Linked DNA regions of Homo sapiens: region 2 is linked to region 1. Evidence: promoter capture Hi-C in 16 types of primary human blood cells and fetal thymus (Javierre and others, 2016). All regions are on one chromosome and are shown on one strand. Each heading gives the region's core, a stretch centred on a gene start or on the middle of the fragment in contact. The rest is flanking DNA. Distances are from core to core; before and after follow the strand shown. Region 1 holds the start of FAM180B (family with sequence similarity 180 member B). Region 2 overlaps CELF1 (CUGBP Elav-like family member 1).

What was found. The method cuts DNA at HindIII sites, captures the fragments that hold promoters and counts their contacts. A CHiCAGO score of 5 or more calls a contact.
Region 2: a contact is called between a fragment that was not itself captured here and the fragment with the promoter of FAM180B in region 1, in 5 of 17 cell types (M2 macrophages, M1 macrophages, M0 macrophages and 2 more). The highest score is 12.0, in M2 macrophages.

What each region holds. Positions count from the first base shown.
Region 1 is chr11:47,584,604-47,590,894 of GRCh38, forward strand. It overlaps FAM180B (family with sequence similarity 180 member B), which reads left to right and starts at 2,075. Exons shown (of 3, transcript NM_001164379.3): 1 at 2,075-2,250; 2 at 3,148-3,218; 3 at 3,436-4,591. The coding sequence starts at 2,166. The coding sequence ends at 3,831. C1QTNF4 (C1q and TNF related 4) reads right to left here. Exons shown (of 2, transcript NM_031909.3): 2 at 5,064-6,212. The coding sequence starts at 6,207. The coding sequence ends at 5,218. RefSeq lists silencers at 2,780-2,980, 4,605-4,805. The HindIII fragment of the contact is 7,265 bases long and covers 1-6,291 here.
Region 2 is chr11:47,478,405-47,485,164 of GRCh38, forward strand. It overlaps CELF1 (CUGBP Elav-like family member 1), which reads right to left. Exons shown (of 15, transcript NM_001376376.1): 7 at 5,985-6,119; 8 at 5,049-5,128; 9 at 4,291-4,452; 10 at 473-548. Among named protein-coding and RNA genes, the nearest start is that of RAPSN, 33 kb to the left of the region's middle. The HindIII fragment of the contact is 9,324 bases long and covers 70-6,760 here.

The DNA of each region.
Region 1 (6,291 bases), core at 825-3,324:
GGGGGGACACAGGCAGGCAGGGGTGTTTCCCTGCTCTCTTAGAGAGGCACTACTAAACCAGGGAGTCTTTGATGGGTTTTTTTTTTTTTTTTTGAGACAGTGTTTCGCTCTTGTTGCCGAGGCTGGAGTACAATGGCGTGATCTCGGCTCACCACAACCTCCGCCTCCTGGGTTCAAGTAATTCTCTTGCCTCAGCCTCCCGAGTAGCTGGGATTACAGGTGTGTGCCACCACACCTGGCTAATTTTGTATTTTTAGTAAAGACGGGGTTTCTCCATATTGGTCAGGCTGTTCTTGAACTCCTGACCTCAGGTGATCTGTCTGCTTCGGCCTCCCAAAGTGCTGGAATTATAGGCGTGAGCCACTGTGACCAGCTCTTTTATGTTTTTTTGAGATGGAGTCTCGCTCTGTCACCCAGGCTGGAGTGCAGTGGTGCTGTCGCAGCTCGCTGCAACCTCCACCTCCCAGGCCCAAGCGGTTCTCCCCCCTCAGCCTCCCAAGAAGCTGGGATTACAGATGCACGCCACCACGCCCAGCTAGTTTTTATAGTTTTTGTAGAGATGGGATTTCACCATGTTGCCCAGGCTGGTCTCGAACTCCTGGCCTCAAATGATCCACACTGGCCTCCCAAAGTGCTGGGATTATAGGCGTGAGCCACCACACTCAGCCGGAGGTCTATTTTAATGGGACTAAAGAGTGTAGTTGCAGACGTGGTGGCCTGCAGGCATGGATGTATTTCTGAGAGGGATTCTGGAGCTGTAACTGAAAGTTCTCACAGTCCACAGGGTTCAGGATGGGTGTGGCATGGTAGCCAATCACTCTTGGGCTACAGGAATCTCCCTGGTTTCTGGCCTGAGCTGAGAATGGTGGGGTTCTTTTTTTCTTCTTCTTTTTTTTTTTTTTTTGAGATGGAGTTTTGCTATTGTTGCACAGGCTGGAGTGCAATGGCATGATCTTGGTTCACTGTGACCGCCGCCTCCCGGGTTCAAGCAACTCTGCCTCAGCCTCCCGAGTAGCTGGGATTACAGGCTTGCGCCACCACGCCCGGCCAATTTTGTATTTTTAGTAGAGATGGGGTTTCTCCATGTTGGTCAGGCTGGTCTCAAACTCCCGACCTCAGGTGATCTGCCCGCCTCGGCCTCCCAGAGTGCTGGGATTACAGGCGTGAGCCACCGCGCCAGGCTGGTGGGGGTTTTTTGAGACAGGGTCTTGGTCTGTCACCTAGGCTAGAGTGAGTACAGCAGTGTGATCGTGGTTCACTGCAGTCTAGACTGCCTGGGCTCAGGTGATCCTCCCACCTCAGCCTCCTGAGTAGCTAGGACCACAGGTGTGTACCACCATACCCAGCTAATTTATTTGTAGAGATGAGGGCTCACCATGTTGCCCAGGCTGGTCTTGAACTCCTGGGCTCAAGCCATCCTCCTGTCTTGCCCTCCTAAAGTGCTGGGATTACAGGCATGAGCCACCGTGCCCGCTCTGAATTAAGAATGTTGCTAGGAAACAAGAGGTCCCAGGGCTGGGGCAAAAACCACTCAGGAGCTGCAGATTTGTCTGTCTGCCAGGGGACAATACGCCCTAGCCCAGCTGATCTGTCTGTCCAGCCTGCGGCAGAGTGCCTGAGAGGGGAGTGCTTGGCTCTGCCTGTCTGTGGGGCCGCCCAGCCAGCCCACCATGCAGTTGGAAGACTTTGCAGCTGATGCTTTTGGCAGCTGAGGGGCTCCTTGGAGGCTGGGCTGGGCCAGACTGGGTGTCGGGGCTGGCCTCAGTCGCAGGATATTTTGAGGGCGCAGACAGTAAGATGGTCTTACTGCCTGAGCTCTTTCCTACCCTTTGGGAGGGCCAAGCTACAGCTATTTGCTACCAAACACCTTTTTCCTATTAACTAAGCATACCGCCCAGCTGGGCAGGAACAGGCTGAGGGCCTGACAAGCAGGGAGCCAGGCTCCTGCCAACAACCAAAGATTCCCCATTTCTAAAGGATGGAAAGAGCCCCTGGGAGGTGACCGAGGCCACAGCCAGCCCCTCCCTGTTCAGCACTGAAGAATGACACGCATTACAGAGCTCTGGAGCAGCCCGCAGTGGAAAGTTGGAGCTGAGGTGTGTGGCAGGCAGATGAGGGAGCAGAGAACTGCTGAACAGAGTGAGACTCAGAGGACGTGGTTGAGCATGGCTGCGACCCTGCAGTTCCTGGTTTGCCTGGTGGTAGCCATTTGTCTCCTCTCTGGTGTGACTACAACCCAGCCCCATGCAGGTACCAGGCTTCAGGGTGGGTGGAGAGGAGCCAAGGCTGCTGGCTGACAGCAGTTAACAGTTGGCTCTATTTGAGGCTAGTCGGGCATAGAAGCGTGGGCATGGTGGGTACCAGGCTGATGTGTGCTGTGGTGGGTGACAGTGTGGGCCCCACCCCCAGAACTGGAAAGGTACAGGTGACACCTAGGGAGATAGCCCTAGGTGCTCTTAATGCTGGCCCTGGGCTCATTCCCACTGATGCCCAAAGCAGGGTCTCTTGACCTGCCTGGGCTTGGAACAAACATTGCAAGGGTGAGGCAACACCCCAAGGTGTGGGCCGGACGGAGCTGCCACAGACATCCTCCCCTGCTCTGTCCTCCCTGCCTCACATCCTCCCCTGCCCCGTCCTCCCTGCCTCACATCCTCCCCTGCTCTGTCCTCCCTGCCCTGTCTTCCTCCTCCCTCCCTTACTGCTGAGGAGGAGCAGGGAGAGTAGGCTCTTTCCAAAGAGGTCTTTGTCCTTGGGAGAGTCACTGGCACTGTTTTAGGTGACTTTATCCTCAGATGACTATAGGGAGGGGAGGAGGGTGGGGAAGGGTCTTGTGACCCGTTGGCCTGGAGCTCTTTAACAAGGGCATTGTGCAATTTAAAGGAGGTGTCCTGGGCATTTGCCAACATGGTAACTGGGCTTGGAATGATGCTTTTGAGATCAGAGGACCTATGCCTGGGAGGGTGAATGTCAATGTGCATGTGTGTGCGTGAGAGGGAGGGGAAAGGAGGGCATGGGATGGCATTCCTGCCCTTTTGTAGAATGATGAAGCACTCGGGACCTCTACCAGGCAGCAGAGGGGCACTTCTGGGAGGCTGGGGTGTTCATGGTGTAGCATGGCAGGGGCCTGACTCCTCTCTGCTGCCCCAGGGCAGCCCATGGACAGCACCAGCGTGGGAGGTGGCCTGCAGGAGCCAGAGGCCCCGGAAGTGATGTTTGAGGTCTTTCCTCCCAGCCTGGGACATGGGGGTGGGCACGTCCAGAGGTCCCTAAGCTCAGGGTTGGGAAGGGGGATGTCTCAGGGTGGACCTGCTAGGGTTGGGTGGGGCAAGCCAGCATGCGTCCTGCTGCCTGCTTCTGCCCCTTCCCCCAGCCCACTCTTGCTCCCTGCCCTGCTCCCCAGGCCACAGCCCACCCCTTACATGGCTCCCCTTGCAGCTGCTCTGGGCTGGGCTGGAGCTGGATGTCATGGGGCAGCTGCACATCCAGGATGAGGAACTAGCGTCCACACACCCAGGCCGCCGACTCAGACTCCTCCTGCAGCACCACGTGCCCAGTGACTTGGAGGGCACTGAGCAGTGGCTGCAGCAGCTCCAGGACCTGCGGAAGGGGCCTCCTCTTAGCACTTGGGACTTTGAACATCTGCTCCTCACAGGCCTGTCCTGCGTCTACCGGCTCCACGCAGCTAGTGAGGCTGAGGAACGGGGCCGCTGGGCCCAGGTCTTCGCTCTCCTGGCACAGGAAACACTCTGGGACCTGTGCAAAGGTTTCTGCCCCCAGGACCGGCCCCCTTCCCTGGGGTCCTGGGCCTCCATCCTTGACCCCTTCCCCTGACCCTCCTCTTTTGTTCTTTCACCTGCCATTACCCCCTCCCATCTCCTCCTCAACCCCCCAGGCAGACCCATCTTGCGCAGGGGCTTCTGTCTGGCATCTGATTCTTTTCACCGTGTTCAGATCTCTGGGCTTGGCTTGCACCCTGGACACCCCCTCTCTGCTTACCCCGACCAGATCTTGTTTCCTAGATCTTGAGAGGCTAAGAACCCAGGCTCTGGGTCGCAAGGAGTGCGCAAGGAGTGGGCACAGAGCTAAGGGCACGACTTGCAGGCAGTGTGTGTGTGAGTGTGTGTGTGTGTGTGTGTGTGTGTGTGTGTGTGTGGAGATCAGGGGTCAGGGTTGAGAAGTGTGTTCAAGAGATGCTGAAGGGAAGCTGCCCCAAGTAAGGCCTGGTCAGACCTTCCAACTCCTACCCTGGCAGTCTGTGACAGGTCCTGTGGAATTCACAGGAATCCTCTAGGTGCTGAGCATCCCCTTTTAGGCACAACCAAGGATTTGGGGTCTCTGAGCCTCCAAGTTCCCATCTGGGTTGGGAGAATCGACTTTTTGAGTTCTGTCAGTTGGAAGAGTGGAGGGAAGCAGGGGGAGGGAGGAACATTATCTCTTTTGGGGTAGGGAGGCAATATCTCAACAAGCGTCGGGTGAATACCTCAGAGGGGGGAGTAAGGCTGGGAGACCAAGGAGAGACAAGCGGAGGTGGGCTGGAGCAGGTGTGGCCCTGATTCTGTGTTGCTCTTCTCATAAAATGTTCTGTTTCGGCCTCCTGGAGCCTGTGTCATTCTATGTCGGAATAAGCGTCTAACCCCTGCTCTGGGCAAATCACTCTCCCCATCCCGGGAAGGCAAGAGTCAGGGCAACCAGGTATCAACTCCTCATCTCATTCCCACGCCCTGCTGGAAGAAGGAATGCACTGTTTCCTTGAATCCCATGCACCCTGTGGGGTAATGGGGTGCTGTTCCTTGTCACAGAAAGGCATCAGCCGGGGGCTAAGGCTGAGGTCGTAGGTCAATGATGAGTCAGAGGGCTAGACGAGGTAGGGATATAAAAGGGAGGCCCCCAACGGACTAGGCGAATGTGGTTCCATCAAATTCCCACCTCCTCACCCTCCCAGGGTCCAAGGGGACCTTGCTTTCCAACCTCCAACCCCTTCCCCGGGCCTGCGGGCCCGCAGTAGTCAGCACCTTCCCGCCTGCCGCCGGCGAATGCGTCGCAGTCAAGACAGCGCAGGGGCCTGGGCTGCCGGGCGCTGCGCGTGCCCGCTTTCCGCTTTATTGGCAGAGTCCAGGCGCGCCCGGAGGCCGTGGCGCTCGCGCGGGACTTTCGAGCCTCCGGCCCGGCCTGGCATGCACGCCCCTGGCCCTCCCGGGCTCTTCTCTGGCCCGGGGCTCACAGTAGCTCCGAGGCCCCGAGGCCCGGCGGGGCGGCGGGGGCGAGGTCGGGGTACACCAGGAAGCCGGAGAAGGTGATGTACTTGCCGTGGTTGCTGTAGGCGCCGTAGCCGTCGTGGTCGTGGCTGAGCAGCCAGACGGCGTCGCCGCGCCGCAGGGCCAGCATCACGCTCTGGCTCTGCATCTCGCGGCGCCGCGACGCGCCGTCGTCGTAAATCATGGCCTGCACCTCGTCGCGGTTCTTCATCAGCTTAACCGACAGCGTCTTACGCGGCAGCTTGCCCAGCGTGAAGGAGAAGAAGTAGGCGCCGGGCAGACGGCAGCGGAACACGCCGGCCGCCGCGTCGAAGTCGCCGCCAATGTTGACGAACTCGGTGTCGAAGGCGAGTGGTTGGTGCCGCGGCCCGGGGCCAGCGTCCGAGCCCACCAAGCTGCGCGTGCGCGCCGCCGAGAAGGCCGAGCGCGGCTCGGGGGGCGCGGGCGGCCCGCGCGCAGGCGCGTCAGCGTCGGCGTCGGCGTAGACTAGGTAGCCGCTGAAGGTGGCGCCGGGCGCGCCTAGCGCGTACTGCGGGGCGCCATGCAGCCGCAGCCACACTGTGTCGCCGTAGTCGAGCTGCAGCATGGCGCTCTGGCTGGCTGCGCGCCGCGCGCCTGGCCGCCGCTGCTCGTCGAAGGCCAGCGCCTGCACCTCGTCGCGGTTTCGCACCAGCATCACCGACAGGCTCTTGTGCGGGGCCTTGCCAGCCGTGAAGGAGAAGAAGTAGGCGCCGGGCACGCGGCAGCGAAACTGGCCGGTGGCCACATCGAAGTCGCCCCCGATGTTCACGTACACCTTGTCGAAGGTCACCGCCATCTCCGACGTGCCCTCCAGGGGGGTGGTGCGTGCCGCCGAGAAGGCCGAGCGCAGCTCAGAGGATCCCGGGCCGGGGGTCGGGCCCAGGGCCCAGCAGGCCGCTGGGCCCAGCAGGCCCAGCAGAAGCGGCAGCATGGCGCCTGGGAGGGAGACGGAGGGGCGAGAGTGGAGTGTTGGCAGGGGCGGCTTCCAAACGCCCGGCTCTCCACCGGGAGACAA
Region 2 (6,760 bases), core at 3,482-5,981, 100 kb before region 1:
AACAACAAAATAGGAATTCACCTAAGAAACAAGAAGATACACAGGTAAACCAAATGCCTGGGTTCTAGAAGCTTCAAGGTAGGGCATTTGCATGGAAGCCATCTTTGGCTTTTCTGCAGTCACTGGAAAAGTCACTTTATAATGGAAATAAAGAGTTCTTGCAATTTTTTCCCCTTATCAGAGAACAGCCTCAGTCTATAGGAGCTAAACAGCCCTTTTCCATATTCTTCTTCAACAGTGACCTAAAAGGTTAGGAGGCACCAGATAACGTCAGAGCAATGTGGCATCAACTAGCCATAGAGCCACTGTATAGAGACAAGAAAATTGAGTCCTGGGATGTTTATCCTAGGTCAGGTTTACATAATAAGCAAAAAAATGTTTTCACAGAAACGATGCCAAACTCCCAAGACTGTTGTTAGCTGGGTCTGCTGGCCTGGGTGCTGCTGCTCCTCTGCAGCAGTGAAACACTTACCTCCCATTGGGTGGAGGCTGCTCAGGGTGTTGAGGTTCCCAGAGGAGGCAGTCTGCTGAAGGAGCTGCAAATAAAGCTAGACATTACACCAAAAAACAGAACAAGAGTGAGAGTGAGGGCTGGTTCTGCATCTGGGATAACTCTACAGCACAGCAAAGCGAGAGTGCAGAGGCCCCCAGAGAGAAGAAAGTCAAAGACAAGAACCCAAGCCAACACAACAGAAACATGAGGCTTATGACAGCACAGGACAAAAAAAAAACACAGCTAAAGCACTGGCCCAGAAGATAGTATGTTCACTGAATACTGAGCCAAGCTCAAGTCCCTGGGCAGCAGAATTCAGCACAGCAAAGGACAGAACTACAGCAGGATAATAAGCTAAACTTGAGGAGCTACGCAGTCAACTGTGATTATTGTCTGCGAATGAATGAATGCCATTTCCAGCTACCCTCTCCCAAGTTCTCCTTAGTTAGGTCCACACATCTCACTCTGCAGATTGTTTCCATCTGGATACTCAATTTCTACTTCACACAACTATTTTAAATATCAAATCTAAACATTTCATAGTATTTCTTGGAGTTACCCTTTATTGGTCACAATGGACCACATGACTAATAATCACTCCAGCTACACATCTATCCAACCTTATTTACTTCCTCCCCTCCAAACTGGTCTTCCCTGTTGCAGATGACCAAATGACTGATGGATTAGTCTATACCAGGTTCAGAGTACGTTCTCCTTCAATGATGGTCCCATGACAAATAAAGTAAGAGGGCCTGTCCCTGAGTTTGTGGCATTAGTTTACTTTGTATATTGGCAAACCACAACCTTCATCTAACCAGCTTGCTGAAAACTTTTGCTCCAACTAAACCCAATTAGTATTGTTTATGGAAAATTGGTATTCTTGTACAGGATCCTTTTATTCAACCTGTTTCCCATTCCTATAAACATCTGACCTGGTTTCTCTGTCGCCGCAAATCCTTCCAGGCTAGAGACCATGGATAAGTTTCAGGAGGTCTACAAACCTCCAGGAACAGAATGGGGGAAAAAATGCACCTATACACCCTTTCCCCCCGCTTCTCAAAGGATAAAAAGATAAAAACCAACTCCTCCAGGACAGTAGAGCCTGGCTAACTCAAGTCCACATAGTCCAGAAAGAACCTCATAATTAATGATGATGTACTATCACACAGTCCACTAGCACCCACGTCTACACTTTTTTTTTTTTTTTTTTGAGACGGAGTCTCGCTCTGTCGCCAGGCTGGAGTACAATGGTGATCTCAGCTCACTGCAACCTCCGCCTTCCAGGTTCAAGCGATTCTCCTGCCTCAGCCTCCCGAGTAGCTGGGACCACAGGTGTGTACCATCACACCCAGCTAATTTTTGTATTTTTAGTAGAGACGGGGTTTCACCATGTTGGTCAGGCTGGTCTCAAACTCCTAACCTCAGGTGATTTGCCTGCCTCGGCTTCCCAAAATGCTGGGATTACAGGCATAAGCCACCGCGCCTGGCCTTTTTCTTCTTAAACACCTTGGGCTATGTGTTCAGTCCTAACTGGTGGACGGTGAATACTGTACTTGGTCCCTTCATTTCCCTCCAAATGAGATTAGCTCTTAGGGCAGGAATCATGTCTAACCAAAACAAAGAGAACACAGCTCTCAACACATGCCATCATGTACTTGCTGGTAGTGGCAATGACAACAAAAAGGTTAACCTTCCCTAAAGGGGGGCTCCAAAAGTCTCTAAGAAAAGCAAATGCATAGCATGTAGACCATTTTCAAAGCATTATCATTTCTGCAGATGACTAAAACCTCCCTGAATTTTCTGAACATATAAGCAATGTTTCAGCACTAAGAAACAATTTTTTCTGTTGAAATATAACCGGACCCAGTGGTTCACGCCTGTAATCCCAGAACTTTGGGAGGGCAAGGTAGGCAAATCACTTGAGGTCGGGAGTTTGAGACCAGCCTGGCTCACATAAGCAAAACCCTGTCTCTACTAAAACTACAAAAATTAGCCAGGCGTGGTGGCACATGACTGTAATCCCAGCTGCTTGCAGTTGGAGGTTGCAGTGAGCAGAGATTGCGCCACTGTTTTCCAACCTGGGCAACAGAGCGAGGCTTCAAAACAAAACAAAACAAAACAACCCCAACTCTTTATATTTTTTTAAAAAAACTTCAGAGAAATACTAGCTAGGATAAACTGGGGTTTTTTTTTTTTTTCTTCTTCTTTTTTTTTTTTTTTTTTTTTTTTTGTGAGACAGAGTCTCGCTCTATTGCCCAGGCTGGAGTGCAATGGTGCGATCTTGGCTCACTGCAACCTCCGCTCAGTGCAACCTCCGCCTCCCAGGTTCAAGCCATTCTCCTGCCTCAGCTTCCCGAGCAGCTGGGATTACAGGCACCTGCCACCACACCCATGTAATTTTTTTGTATTTTTAGTATAGACAGGGTTTCACCATGCTGGCCAGGCTGGTCTCAAACTCCCAACCTCAGGCGATCCACTCACCTCAGCCTCCCAAAGTGTTGGGATTACAGGCGTGAGTCACAGCGCCCGGCCTAAACTGGGATTTCTTATAAGATATTAGAAATATGAAAACCACTGGAACTAAACCAAAATTCAGTACTGGGAGACAGAAATCAGTGCCTTTTGTCTGTTTCCATACAGAATAATACTTGAAATGATGAGGAATAAATGACTATACTAGCTATTTCTATGTGAATATTTTTGTATCATCCATACAAATCTAGTGGTTTCACCATTAATAGCCTAAGATGACCTTTTTCCTCTTTGACTCACAAATGGGTGGTTTTAACTGTCTTGTGCTGGCCCAATTCTTTTCCATTAATAATCCCCTGTAACATATACACTGCAGACCTAGTAAATCTAAATCACAAATTGGGGCGAGACCTTCTTTTGGACTAGACAACCTTCTTTTGGCTCACGACAACAGAGAGATCAAATTAAAGGAAGTCTATTTACAATGTAGTAAACTTGAATATACACCTGTAATGCTCATTTAAAAATGTTCATGTTAATCTCTTGATCTCCGCCAGGCGCAGTGGCTCACACCTGTAAACCCAGCACTTTGGGAGGCCAAGACAGGTGGATCACCTGAGGTCGTGAGTTCGAGACCAGCCTGGCCAACACAGTGAAAGCCCATCCCTACTAGAAATACAAAAATTAGCTGGGTGTGATGGTGTGTGTCTGTAGTCCCAGCTACTTGGGAAGTTGAGGCAGGAGAATCACTTGAACCCGAGGTGGAGGTTGCAGTAAGCCAAGATTGTGCCACTGCACTCTAGCCTGGGTGACAGAGTGAGTGAGACTCCGTCTCAAAAAATAAATAAATAAATAAATAAATAAAGCAAAAAAAGAAAAAAAATCTCTTGATCTCTCAAGTCCGCTGAAAGAAACATTTATCATACTCTTTAGGAAAGACTCAATAAGGATTTTAATGATGCCCTCTACATCTGGTAGAAAGAGATATGGAGAAAGACACTGGTAGTTAAGATTCCCTCAGGAATTTCTTTCTTGGAGGCAAGGACACAAGATGTTTCTAAATCTTTAAAACGGGAAACCAGGAATTCACTTTAGTTGCAGCAAAAGCCTCAAGATATAACCAGAGATGCATGTCCAGAGATACATATATATAGAGAGAGAAAGAGACTAACAGGACTAAAAGAAATAGTACTACCTGAATTTTTACATATAATTTCTATATGCCAAAAGTTGTAAATGCCACTGTGTTTGTTGGCTAGGGACAGCAGAAGAAGGAACAGCTGGGAGCTTGCACAGTCTGCAGAAAGCAAACCACAAAGACTCACTGCTAAATACTGGGGTCCAAGAGTATTTAGACCAGCAAGGTTTCCCCACACAGATGCTGCGCTGATTTGCTGCATCTGCTGCTGGAGCTGCTGGGCCATTCTCTTCTGTTCTTTGTCCTTCTGTGTATCAGCAAATTTTACCACCATGGGTGATGAGCAACCCTGTGAAAAGACCATAACGAAAGGGTCAAATTCCTCCATCTGAAAAGAAGAAAAAAAATCTTCCTTTTGGATGACATGCAGGTTACATTCTAATTTCATTCACTGCCAAATGATTCTCCTCATGATAGACACAAGAGAGAAGAGACTGTAATCCCAACACTTTGGGAGGCTGAGGCGGGTGGATCACTTGAGCCCAGGAATTTTAGACCAGCCTGGGCAACATGGCAAAACGGTCGCTATTAAAAAAAAATACAAAAATTAACTGGGCGTGCTGGTGTGCACCTGTAGTCCCAGCTACTTGAGTGGCAGAGGTAGGGGGGATCACTTGAGCCTGGGTGGTTGGGGCTGCAGTGAGCCATGATATTCCCACTGCACTCCAGCCCAGGTGACAAAGTAAGACCCCATCTCAAAAAAAGGGGTAGGGAGAGCATTTCCAATACGTTAATTTTAAAGAAATCAGTGGTTTTTAACTTTAAGATGTTGGCTGTTTAACCTTCTGGGCAATCAGATGCTGCACATGCTGCTGGACTTTAATGGCCAACTGTCCCAGCATTCCCAAGCTGAGGAATTTTCCCCATCACCTATCTGCTCCCTACCTCCATGGTCTGTGCTTGGTGCATTGCCTTGATAGCCGTCTGTGCCATGGCTCTTGTTGTAAAAGTCACAAATGCACAACCTGGTAAGAGAAGAGTCAGTAACTCATGCATTCATTTATTTCTCTGACAAACATTAACTGAGCACCTACTATGTGCTGACTATCATGCTAGCAATACAGACACAGTCCCTGTTTTCAGGGAATCATGTGCTGGTATGTTGCAACAGGGTGATATGTGCTATAATGAAAAAACAGAACCACTGACAGAAAAAAAAAATGCTTGACAGGAGAAAGGAGGACTCATATCCTCTAGTTCCTCTTGAAAATAAAAGAAAATGGAAGAAGAAAGTATTTCCATTTTGGCATCAAGGATCTTGCAAAGCACCAAAAGAGAAAATTTTAATACATGACAATGAAATATAGAATGTAGACTCCTTAGAGGGGCTGGGAGACAAAAAGAATGAACTGATAGGAGGAGTCAAGACAGGACATAGATATACAGCAGGAAGCAGCAGGCCCAACCTCTTTATCTTGACTGGGCCATATTGGCTAGGGAATCACTGTTGCTAGTTTCCACCGGTCAAATTAAAAAGATTCCAAGCCCGGTGCAGTGGCTCACACCTACAATCCTGGCACTTTGGGAGGCCAAGATGACAGGATCGTTTGAGTCCAGGAGTTCAAGACCAGCCTGGGCAACACAGGGAGACCTTTTCTCTATAAAAAATTTAAAAATTAGCTGGGTGTCATGATGCATGCCTGTGGTCCCAGCTACTCAGGAGGCTGATCCTGGGAGGTTCAGGCTGCAGTGAGTTGTGAAGGCACCACTGCACTCCAGCCTGGGTGAGAGAGAGCAAGACCTTGTCTCCAAAAAAAAAAAAACCCCAAACCAAACCAAAACAAAAAACCAAAAGATTATTTAAAAGCTAAAACTACCTACCTCGGCTCAGGCCATCAGGTCCCCGCAATATCCGGCATTCTTCAATCTGTCCAAACGAAGAGAACATGACTCGGATGTCATTTTCAGTGCACTTCTTGGAAATCATACCAATAAACAGCTTCCTGTCTTCCACTGCTAAGAGAGTAAAACAGAAAAGACTTGAATATTACTACTTAAAGAGGCAATGTGGCACAGATTTGGGAGCCAGACCGCCTGGGTTTGAATCCTGGCTCTGTACCATATTTTACAGATTCAAAGACACACATTTGTTTTTTGTATTTTTCACATCTCTTTTTTTCTTGTTTTTGAGATGGAGTTTCGCTCTTGTTGCCCAGGCTGGAGTGTAATGGCGCGATCTCGGCTCACCGCAAGCTCCGCCTCCCGGATTCAAGTGATTCTCCTGCCTCAGCCTCCTGAGTAGCTGGGATTACAGGCATGCGCCAAAATGCCTGGCTAATTTTGTATTTTTAGTAGAGATGGGGTTTCTCCATGTTGGTCAGGCTGTTCTTGAACTCTCGACCTCAGGTGATCCACCCGCCTCGGCCTCCCAAAGTGCTGGGATTACAGGTGTGACCCACCACGCCCGGCTTCACGTCTCTTTTTATAACCAATGTTATCTTAAAATTATAATTAGAAGCATTTAGATGAAATATGGTAGCTTTGTAATCTTGTGAAAGTTACTCAACCATTCTGTGCCTGTTTCCTCATCTAACTAATAGGAATAATCAGGTTTACTTCAAAGGGTAGCAGTTGCTATTAAATGTGAAGTACTTGGC